Linked DNA regions of Homo sapiens: all the other regions are linked to region 1. The links are contacts of gene promoters, found by promoter capture Hi-C in blood cells and fetal thymus (Javierre and others, 2016). All regions are on one chromosome and are shown on one strand. Each heading gives the region's core, a stretch centred on a gene start or on the middle of the fragment in contact. The rest is flanking DNA. Distances are from core to core; before and after follow the strand shown.

Region 1 (3,745 bases), core at 335-2,834:
AAGGCCGGCCATGAGGATTAAATGAATGCAAATTTGTAGACCACTTACAGTATTACCTGGCATGTAGCAAGTGCCATGTAAGTGTTTGTTAAACTGCAGTGCTATCCGAAGTTAGCACAGACTTCAGAGGTCAAAGCATGGTCCTCCTCAAGACTCCCCTTCAGACACCTGCCACAAGCTTTGGGGTTCCCAGGCCACCTGCACTTCTGACCAGCTGTCTCTGTCATATGCCCAGGGCCTGAGCACTGTCTGCTAGGGTGCCTCAGTTCTCACCCACGCAGCTTCTCTCTACACATGATGTTTCATTGCTATTCGCTTTACTCCCTCAGGTTTCACAGAATGACTCATAGAACTCAAGAAAGTGCTTTCCTTGCTATTACAGTTTTATTATAAAGGACACATATCAGGACCAGCCAAATGAAGAGATGTATAGGGCGAGATGTGGGAGATTTCCCAAATAGAAGCTTACGTGTCCTCAGGAACGCTTCCCCCTCCTGACACTTTGATGAATGATTATCGACCAGTAAGCTCACCTGAGCTTCCACATCCAGAGTACTCACTGGGGTTCCATTATGTAGGCATAGTTGGTTAAATCACTGGCCACATGGCTGAACTCAGTCTCCAGCCCCAATCTGCTCCCCAGAGGTGGGCCTGCTTATGTGACTCAAAGCCTAAGCCCTCATGGTTGGCCGGCCCTTCTGGTGTGGCCAGCCTCCATTCTGAAATCATCTTGGGCCCTCCATGAGCCATCTCATTAGCATAAACTCAGGTGTATTTCCAGAGGCCCACCATGAATAACAAAGACACTTCTATCACTTGGGAAATTCTAAGGATTGAGGGTACCTCCCAGGAACCAGAGTCAAAGTCCAGTCAAATTCTTTATTATACAACGTGAGTTTACTGACTTGAACAGAAAGAGGGAGCAAGAGAAGCATTCTAGGAAACAGGTGTCTAAAAAGAAAGGCAGGAATAGTCAGCCACACTCATGGCATAGTAGGGAAACAGCCCCCAGCTAATTGGCTTTGCTATACAGTAGTCCCCCCTTATCTGAGGTTTCACTTTCTGTGGTTTCATTACCCGCAGGACGGTACAATAAGATATTTTGGGAGAGAGACTACATTCACATAACTTTTATTAAATTGTTCTAATTGTTCATCTCTTACTGTGCCTAATTTATAAACTTTATCATATGTATATACAGGAAAAAACATAGTATATACATGGTTCAGTACTATATGCAGTTTCAGGAATCTACTGGGGGTCTTGGAATGTATTCTCAGCAGATATGGGAGGACAACTGTACTGGAATGCACCAGCTTTGAGCCAAATAACCAGGGCTCTGAGTTTAGCTCCAAAGTTCAAGCACCTTCCTATTCTAGCAGCATCCGCCCTGATCCAGCATGGCGGCAAGAGCTTCTGCCAGTTCACAGCCTGACTACACGGCAGGCGCCTTTCCGGAACCGCCCGCTGGGTAGATTAAATTTCTCCGGCGCCCTGTAATGACACACACACAAAAAAAACCCGGGCGCGCCTTGTAAGAGGGCGGCCGGGTTTGCGCAGGCGCAGCGTGGCCGCGGGTGGGCGGAACTGGTCGGGATGAGTGGCGGAGGGACAGAGACCCCTGTGGGTTGTGAGGCCGCCCCGGGCGGTGGCAGCAAGAAGAGGGACTCCCTGGGGACTGCGGGCTCAGCGCACCTCATTATCAAGGGTACGGAGTGTCAGGGCTATAGTTCCTGGTGGATCCCAGCACAGCCTCATCTCCCAGGCGGCGCCCTCTGACCCGGGCCGACCCCCGGGTCCCGGGCTGGCGCGCGTGCGTTTGTGCGGGTGGGGGAGTCGTGGTCGGTCCCCGCCTTTTTCCCCGCGCCAAATGCGTCCCACCACAACCAACCAGCCCAACTCTTCGTGTTTCCCCGCTTTCCTCTGTCGCAGCCTGAGCCATCAGGCCCGCCCCCGTCCATTCCGCAAGCTCAGGACCCCTGGGCGCAGAGCCTTTGGGCAGCCTCGCCACCGACGTGTAGTGGAAAGGGCATTGGACCTGGGAGGCGGGAGGCAGTCGCTTAGGAGTTGAGTGACTTCGGGTCACTGGCTTTACTCACTCTCCTACCCGATCTGTTCCTGGTCGTGCGAGGAGTAAGTGAGATACACTTACGAAGGCGCTCTATAGCACTGTAAAGAACCATTCACGTTCAGAAATGTCCATGTGTTCTGTGTGCTTTGAGCTGGGAGAAGGTTACAACCTAGATTCTCACAGAATCTGCTTTAGGTTTGACTCCTAAAGCTCACAACGCTGTTTGCTGCGTGAAAGTCTTTGACAGTTGAGTTGTAGTGCTTTATATATACCAGATATAAAGTGCTTATATACAGTGCTTGTATTATTTTTTCTACTTGACATGCTTAAGAAGATATGTACTAATAAAATTCATTAAAATAGAGAATTGAAACCTGCCCATCGTATGTCTGCAAAAATGAAAAATTTGGGGAACATTGCCAGTGAATGAATATGAATAATACATTGTCTTAGATTTAATTTCTCAAGGAATTTTGAGACTTACATTTTAAACTACATAGTTGTAACTAAGAAGAATAATAAACTGACTCACCAAAAGACTTAAATTCAGACCTTTTCTTAATGACTTTTTCAGACTTATGAAAAAGAGACTTACAATGAACATTCACCACCCACCTTAATAAATAAATTACTAAAAGCCCCACTGTGTCTTGCTCTAATTGCACTAGTTCCCCTCCCTCGTCTCAAGGTAGCCACTATCCAGAATTTGGTGTTTATTATTCTTGTGCATTTCTTTATAGTTTTGTTGCTTCTGTCTATATCCCAAAAGGAAATATTTTGAATATTTTAAAGTTTTATGTAAATTGCTTTAATCCTTCTGAAACTTGCTTTTTTATTATATTTATTATAAAATACGTATTATTTTTTATATTTATGTTGATAAGTGTAACTCTGATGTATTTATTTTTACTTGGTGATTGATAGAATTCCATTGTATGAGTATGGTTAAGGTGTTTTGCGTTTTTTCTTTTGATATTACACCTATGCTGTAATAAATATGTATAAATGGCCTTACTCATTTGTGCAAGAGTTTTCCAGGGTACATACCTAGGCATGAAAATGCTAGGTATACATGTCTGCAACTTTATTGAATACTGAAAGATTGTTCTCAAAAGTAGTTGTATCAGTGTACACATCCACTGGCAGTGGATGAGATTTCTTCTTAGTCCATAGTCTAAACTGGATTTTAACCTTCATCTCTTAGTGGGGAAGGGAGAGAGTAAAACAAGCTAGAGATTATGCCATTTAGCATGGATTAACCCTGAATTTCATTTTATCTTTATAGATCTTGGAGAAATTCATTCAAGGCTTTTGGATCACAGACCAGTTATTCAAGGTGAAACTCGTTATTTTGTAAAAGAATTTGAAGTGAGTATTTAAACTTATTTTATAAAAGTACTTCCCTAATTGTTAGTGTGTTATTATACAGAAGAGAAATTCCCCAGTTTTAAAATCGGATTTTAGTTCATGTGTTCATAAAATATACAAAGTAAAAATGATGAAGACGTAAAAATTGTTGTTTTTAATGGGATAAGTTCCATACTAAACAGCAGGATACATAAGTTCTGGTGCCTGCTCTAGGGTATTTAATGTCTGTTGATCTGAGGTTTTTTTAATCTATAAAATGAGATATAGTGGGGGAAAAAAAGGGATTTTAGAGATTGATGGGTCTGA
Region 2 (3,745 bases), core at 636-3,135, 770 kb after region 1:
GGTCCACCAGTGGTACATAACATGAACCTTTATAGCAAGGGGAAAGGTCTTTAAAGCCTGAAAATAAATGTGATGAAGATTTATTCTTTATCATCAGTACTAGACATGATTTTCTCCTTCCCTTTAATAAAGTATTTGAGTAGAAGTATGTTCTAGGAAGACTAGAAGAGAATATAACTTGTTTACCAAGATATTTAAATTAAGTAATTTGATAGGTGTTTTAAAAATTAGAGTAAACAGCTGGTCATGATAGTATGTGCCTATAGTCCCAGCTACTTGGGAGGCTCAGGCAGGAGGATTGCTTGAGCCCAGGAGTTCCAGGCAGCCTGGGCAACATAGCAAGACCTCAACTCTTTTTTAAAAAATATTAAGTAAATGGTGTAACGGAACTCCTTTAAAATATGTCTTTATGTTCTTTTAGCGTAAGAGACCCATACAGAAAGTAGAAATGGGTACATCAAGTCAGAATGATGTTGACATGAGTTGGATTCCTCAGGAAACATTGAATCAAATCAGTAAGTAGTCTTACAGACTTGGCTGGGAAGTTTTTCTCTTAAGTGGAAATTAAATACCTTAGATTTAGTTTAAAAAAAAAACTTTTTCAGTACTATTTAACATTCATCTTTTCCATTACTTGTGTAGAATCTAGTATAGTGATTAATTAAGACCTTAAAGGTTTATTCAGTGTGTAGTCTTCTTATGCTTTAATTTGGAAATTCTTCCAGATCTGCAGCTTATTTATGAATGTGTGAATTTTCTGTGTTCCTAATCCATTTCCTGTCTCTTTTCTTTCTGTTGCTTCAGTGCAGAGTAGAAGAGGTGAGGCATTTAATTTTTTTAATGGTTTTTGCTAGAGAATTGGGGGCTCTCAAATAGCACGTAAATATTTTACGTCAAGTTTAATGAGTAATGGAACAATTTTTCTTACTACATTTTATTAGAAAAACTACCCAGTATAACTTGAAAGAATAAACCTAAAATATTACCCGACAATTTATTTTACAGATACATTTCAGTTTTATTACATATTCAGTTAAAATACTAACCTTTATAAAAGAATATAGAAATGTTTCTTCAATTGTAGGACATTTTAAAAATGTTTATTATAAAACCAATGCAGCCTCATTATAAAAAATTAAATAGTACAGAAGTGAAAAAAATAAGTCAATTCCTGACTTCATTAATCCTATTTATTTATTTATTTATTTATTTATTTGAGATGGAATCTTGCTCTGTCGCCCAGGCTGGAGTGCAGTGGCATGGTCTTGGCTCACTGCTACCTCCGCCTCCTGGGTTCGAGTGATTCTCCTGCCTCAGCTTCCCAAGTAGCTGGGATTACAGGCACGTGCCACCACGCCCGGCTAATTTTTTTTGTATTTTTAGTAGAGACAGGGTTTCACCATGTTGGCCTGGCTGGCTTCGACCTCCTGACCTCAAGTGATCCGCTAGCCTCGGCCTCCCAAAGTCCTGGGATTACAGGCGTGAGCCACCACGCCCGGCCCTATTTTTCATAAATGGTATTATGTTTATATTTTCCATTAATTTCTATATATCTATAAGCATATACGCCTATTGTTTTTATGTGAGTATTTAGTTCAGATTGCATCATGCTGTCTACAACTTCAGTTTTCATACCTTGGATGTCTCTTTGTAGTAACTACATAAATATTTACTAAACTGTTTTTTTACAACTAGACAATATTATTTTATATATATATGTATGTCATGATAGATTAAACCTGTTCTGTATTGGAAGGATATTGGTTACTTTTATTTTTTCACTCCTACAGATGATACTGTAATGAATATTCTTATATATAAATTTATAGGATAACTTCTTAAAGGTAGAGTAACTAGGTCTAAGATTAAATACACTGAATTTTTATGGAAGGGACCCCATTTCCCTCCTAAAAGGGGAAAAAAAGGTAGTGCCAATTTATGTTCTCAACCATGCACAATATTGCCTATTTAATCTGTCGGTATGATATAAAATGAGTGTCTTACTGTTTCATTTGCATTTCTTTAAGAATGAGGTTCAGCTCCTTTATACATATTCATAGTTGACCCTTGAAAGACACAGGTTTGAACTGCTTGGGTTTCACTTTATATACAGATTTTTTCAATATAATTGACCCTCGGTATATTGGTGGGTTCCACATCTGCAACCAAAAGCAGATAAAAAATACAATATTTGGCCAGGCGTGGTGGTTCACACCTGTAATCCCAGCACTTTGGGAGGCTGAGGCAGGAGGATCGCCTGAGCCCAGGAGTTTGAGACTAGCCTTGGCAACATAGTGAGACCCCATCTCTACAAAGAATGAAAAAAAAATACATGTGTTGACGTGCGCCTAGGCTGAGGTGGGAGGATTGCTTGAGCCTGGTAGGTCCGTGATTGCTCCATGATGGTGCCACTGCACTCCAGCCTGGGTGACAGTGAGACTCTGTCTCAAAAGAAAAGGTGGGGGTGGGGAGGAAAGGAAATCATTGAGGAGCTAAGCTCTGAGGACGCAGAGGCATAAGAATGATATAATGGACTTTTGGGACTCGGGGAAGGGTAGGAGGGGGGTGAGGGATAAAAGACTACACATGGGTTATCGTATACACAGCTTGGGTGATGGATGCGCCAGAGTCTCAGAAGTCACCACTAAAGAACTTACCCATGTAGCCAAACACCATCTGTCCCTCAAAACTAGTGAAATAATAGTAAAATAAAATCTATTAAAAAAAAAAAAAGGAAATCACAGTTTTTGCAGGATACCAAACCTAAGTACAGGGAAGGCTTTTTGTATCCACCGGTTCCTCAGTGCTGACAGCGGAACTTCAGTATGCCTGGATTTGGGTGGGGTTGCCGTGGGGGAGTAGTCCTGGAACTAATTTCCTGCAGATAATAGAGATGACTGTATTGGCTAGGGTTTCTTTTCCTGTGAATTGGCTGTTCAGGTCCTTTTCCATTTTTAAATTGTTTTCTCTACTGCTTTCTGTGAGCTAGCTGTCTCTTTCTGTGAGCTAGCTGTCATATTGCAGTATAGCAGTTGCTTTATGAAAGGTGGGTTCAAAGTAACAAGAGCACAGGAGGAGGTCAGCACTAGACCCGAGTCTTGAAAGGTTGGGTGAGAAGGAGTCTTTAAGGTTTTATGAGCTATGCTAACAACTTTTGACTCCTAGGTCAAAGAGCCACTTTAAAGGAGAGGAATTACAATTGTGTTTTAAAAATTATGGTAAGCTGGGCATGGTGGTGTGCACATGTAGTCTCAGCTACTGGAAATGTTAAGGCAGGAGGATCGCTTGAGCCCAGAAGTTCGAATCCAGCCTCGGCCACATAGCAAGTCTCCCATCTCTAAGAGAAAAAAAAGAAAAGAAAGGAAAAATTAGGATCACTTTGTGGAGGACTGCAAAGGAGCTGCTGGAAGCAGGGTTACCAGTTCCGCGATTTCAGTAAAGCACAGAAGTCACTGGGGCCTAAGCAGAGGCAGTGGTGATAGGAGTAAAAGGGAGTAGAAGGATGTTTCACAGGTGGAGTAGATGGGGTTTTTTATGACTGGATGTGTTAGTGAGGGAGGAATGAAAGAGCATTCTGAACTTAGGCAACTGGGTGAAAGCTGATCCCATTAATGTCCCATAATCTAGGAAAGAGAAGCATGGAAGGATGAGGAGAGATGTGTTTGGATTAGCTATGCTGAGTGTGAAAAACCTTTGGGACTCCCAGATAAGGATGTCCAGGAAACATTTGAAAGTTCTGTTTCAG
Region 3 (3,745 bases), core at 622-3,121, 750 kb after region 1:
TGAGCTGTAACACTCACCGCGAAGGTCTGCAGCTTCACTCCTAAAGCCACCGAGACTATGAACCCACCAGGAGGAATGGACACCTTAACAGCTGTAACACTCACTGCGATGGTCTAGTAGCTTCACTCCTGAGCCAGTGAGACCATGAACCCACCAGAAGGAAGAAACTCGGAACACATCCGAACATGATGAAGGAACAAACTCTGGACTTTAAGAACTGTAACACTCAGCACGAGGGTCTGCGGTTTCAGTCTTAAAGTCAGTGAGACCAAGAACCCTATTCCAGACACAGCTCTGACATAGAGTGGCAACACTGGTAGCGTGCACAGGAGCAGAGGCAGCAGCAAAGTGAGAGGAGGCCCTCCACTTATGCTGGGCGCCCTAGTAGCAGCAGCAACACAGCAGCGGTGCCACTGGTGGCCTGGCAGAGTGGAATTTGGTTGATTCAGCCCAGCACCATCAGGCTGTGACTTTAGCAGACTGTAGGTAGTGGTGGCAGTGGGTCCAAGCTGCATTTACAGCCCCCAGGACAAGGAGACCTGAAGCGGAAACAATGCAGGAGTAGAACAGCAAATGTCCTAGGTCAGTAGTGTATGGAATCTGGAACCAGATAGCCTTGTTCAAATCTTGCATCTGCCGTTTGCTAGCGTTTTGAAGCTTTGAGTAAATTACTAACCTCTCTGGGTCTGTTTTCTCCTCAGTAAATAATATCCAGCTCATAGAGAGGTTTAGAAAATTAAATGAAAAAGCACAGCTCTAAGGAGGTGATTGACAATAGTAAGCATATGATTTATTTCCTCATCTTTATGACATCTCACTCTGGTCCAGACCAAGATTACTTAATATTCAGATTAATTTCATGAACTGCTATATTACTCCAGCAACTCAAATCCAAAATAGATGAAAAGGAAACTAAAGAAAACTGGACAGCCATTGCTGCACCTATTGTATAGTTACAAATGCTGACTACATACCAAAACACTGTTTAGGTGACTTATAATTCTGGAATGTCACATACGAATTTAAGAATTGCTGGCCAGGCGCAGTGGCTCACACCTGTAATCCCAGCACTTTGAGAGACCCAGGCGGGTGGATCACCTGAGGTCAGGAGTTTGAGATTAGTCTGGCCAACATGGTGAAACCCCCGTCTCCAGTAAAAATACAAAAATTAGCCGGGCGTAGTGGTGCGCGCCTGTAGTCCCAGCTGCTTAGGAGGCTGAGGCGGGAGAATCGCTTGAACCCGGGAGGCGGAGGTTGCGGTGAACAGAGATGGTGCCACTGAACTCTGGCCTGGGCGACAGAGCAAGACTTCGTCTCAAAAATAATAATTTAAGAATTGTCATTACTTAACCATGGGAGAGGGTGTGGGCAGACAGGGGACAAAGATTTTCCACTGTGTATTTTCATGGTTTTTCCTTTGAACAATGTCCTCTCTTCCAACAAAATTTTTTGCTTTTAAGTGCCACATAAAGGCAGCTCATGTTCCTTACATCGCCGTTATCAAGAGGATCGTCATTCAAATAAAGTAACCACTGACAATGCTAATTAATTGGAAGTAAAGAACTGGGCGGAAAGAACGGCTAACCGCAAGCTGCCGGGTCGCAACTGCGGCGGAAGGCGGACTCTCGCGGGAGCCACAAAGAGGCAGCAGCCGGCCACGTGACTTCCCGGTGGCCTGCTCTCCCCACCTCTCCGCGCTGAGCAGCCACGTCGGCGGCGGTCCCTGGTCCAGGGAGGGGCGTGGCAAAGGCCCGTGCGCGGTACGTGTCCCGCCCCTCGCTGCCCGGAGCCCGGATGAAGAGTAACGCCATTACCGCCGGAGCCGCCGAGAGCCTTAGCCGACGGAAACTGGACACTGGACCGGCAGCGCCATGAGACTCCTCCCCCGCTTGCTGCTGCTTCTCTTACTCGTGTTCCCTGCCACTGTCTTGTTCCGAGGCGGCCCCAGAGGTGAGGCTGGGGGAGTGTGCGGAGGGGATGGCCAGGAAGGAGATGCCAGTGATGGCAAGTTTGAAGTTGGAGGCGGTGGCCGCTCCGGGTCCTGGGGTCCGCGTCCACCCCGCTGGCCTCTCTCCGCCCTCTCCCCAAGCCTAGGCTCGTAGCAGCAGGGGTCCCCGCGGGCGCTGGAGACCCCGCTGCGGCCTGCCCCTTGCACGCGGAGCGCGGGGCCGTGCCCGGGCGACCTTGCTTCGTGGCCGGCCGAGGGCTGGGCTTGCTCCTCTTGCCCTGGACCCTCGCCTGCAGGAGCGGCCAGAACTGGAGGGTCCTCGGCTGCAGGAGGAGGCGCTGGACACGGCTGCGCTCCGAGCGCGCCGCAGCCGGGCTGTTTCTTTTGGCCACCTCCGGCTCCGCTCCACCCCCAGCCCCTCGCGCTCAGGGCTGACGTGTCTTTAGCTTCCACGCCGGGAGTCCGTCTTCATTCATTTGCCAAAACCCTTGTTTTCTACACATCTAAGCCATCAGAGTGTCTTGTTCAATGGTCATCTGCCTTGTTCACGCCCTGCTTGACCCGTATGTGTTACTAGGAGGCTTGATTTCAGAAAAACTACCCCATCGTCACCCCCGTTATCCGCCCCTGCTGCCAAGCAGACTGAAGAATCCCTGTGGGATGTCTCCCTTCTGCCTTCTTCCTCTTCTTGTCTTTCCATGGAACAATTTTTTGTTTGTGGAAACATCGTATTGTGCTGAAAAAATGTGGCCTACTTCGAGTGTTTTTAATACATAGATTTATTCTTTCAACAATTAACCCAGCAATTAAGTGTGAAAATAACTTAGCAGAATATAAAAATATGGCAACTTGACTTCCTGCACAGGTTTTGTCGTGAACTTCGACTTTCTAATTTGTAAAGTGAAATAATTAGTCTGACTAAGCATCCCTTTCATTCTGTAAGTTTAAGCAAGCTGTGTGTCTTAACGGTAGTGACAGGTATTCACGAGTTGTTTTGCGATGAAAAGTGAAGTGACTGGCTTCTGTTTAATGGCTAGAAAACCAAGTGGGAGAATTAAACAACTGTTAATGAGTTAATCTGCAGGTTTAACAAGATTTTTTACTTTAGGAGTCGTTTGCTGGTACTCTTTAAGCTTTTTAAAAGAAAACTTGACAAATGTAGTTTTAGTTTTAGAACTATTTATAACTATTTTCAAGTTATAAAAACTTTCAAGAAGCATGAATTCATTATCTAAACTGAATTAATATCTTGTAAACATTTTTTGTGAGAAACGGTTTTTGTGTTTGGTTTTTCCAGTTGAATGAAGACTGTTAGACTTCATGGGGACAAAATTGTTATTGGTTAACATTAAAATAATAAAATTGTTTAATATTTATGAAAGGCCTTTATATTCCAAAGTGCTCAAATTTAACCACGACTTTAAATTACTATATCAGACATGGTATTTTTCTTACTGGTTTTTGAAAAGGACTTGTAAGTTATGAATGCACTATTTTAGGCTTTGTTCAGCAGGCAGTGAAATCTCTTTAGTTCATAATGCATGGTTCAGTGTTCTTTAATATTTTGCAATAAATCTTAGCAGCCAGTGAGAACTTAAAGACATGGAAAAGACTGCAAATGCATGGTCCTTAACTGTTTCTCCTGGGTGAAAACACGCTTCCCTTCCCATGTTTTTTATCCACAGAATTGCCACATCATCATTTTTTCTGAGAGATGTTGGAAGACACTAGAACTTTGAAATTCTTTTTATGGTCTTGCCTGAAATAGATATAATGTGACTTACTTAGAGTACTATT

Evidence for each region. The method cuts DNA at HindIII sites, captures the fragments that hold promoters and counts their contacts. A CHiCAGO score of 5 or more calls a contact.
Region 2: a contact is called between a fragment that was not itself captured here and the fragment with the promoter of BLOC1S5 in region 1, in 4 of 17 cell types (naive CD8 T cells, total CD8 T cells, total CD4 T cells and 1 more). The highest score is 6.5, in naive CD8 T cells.
Region 3: a fragment that was not itself captured here is called in contact with the fragment with the promoter of BLOC1S5 in region 1 in 8 of 17 cell types (non-activated CD4 T cells, total CD8 T cells, naive CD8 T cells and 5 more); the score reaches 15.1 in non-activated CD4 T cells.

Annotation. Positions count from the first base shown.
Region 1 is chr6:8,062,228-8,065,972 of GRCh38, reverse strand. It overlaps BLOC1S5 (biogenesis of lysosomal organelles complex 1 subunit 5), which reads left to right and starts at 1,584. Exons shown (of 5, transcript NM_201280.3): 1 at 1,584-1,708; 2 at 3,357-3,439. The coding sequence starts at 1,597. It overlaps BLOC1S5-TXNDC5 (BLOC1S5-TXNDC5 readthrough (NMD candidate)), which reads left to right and starts at 1,559. Exons shown (of 13, transcript NR_037616.1): 1 at 1,559-1,708; 2 at 3,357-3,439. It overlaps EEF1E1-BLOC1S5 (EEF1E1-BLOC1S5 readthrough (NMD candidate)), which reads left to right. Exons shown (of 7, transcript NR_037618.1): 4 at 3,357-3,439. RefSeq lists enhancers at 1-150, 161-260, 1,951-2,140, 1,750-2,376. The HindIII fragment of the contact is 8,031 bases long and covers 467-3,745 here.
Region 2 is chr6:7,292,162-7,295,906 of GRCh38, reverse strand. SSR1 (signal sequence receptor subunit 1) reads left to right here. Exons shown (of 8, transcript NM_003144.5): 7 at 422-515. Among named protein-coding and RNA genes, the nearest start is that of SSR1, 19 kb to the left of the region's middle. The HindIII fragment of the contact is 8,134 bases long and covers 1-3,745 here.
Region 3 is chr6:7,311,247-7,314,991 of GRCh38, reverse strand. It overlaps SSR1 (signal sequence receptor subunit 1), which reads left to right and starts at 1,793. Exons shown (of 8, transcript NM_003144.5): 1 at 1,793-1,950. The coding sequence starts at 1,872. RefSeq lists enhancers at 1,418-1,477, 1,488-1,557, 894-1,760, 1,761-2,629 and silencers at 2,048-2,157, 2,288-2,337. The HindIII fragment of the contact is 2,424 bases long and covers 660-3,083 here.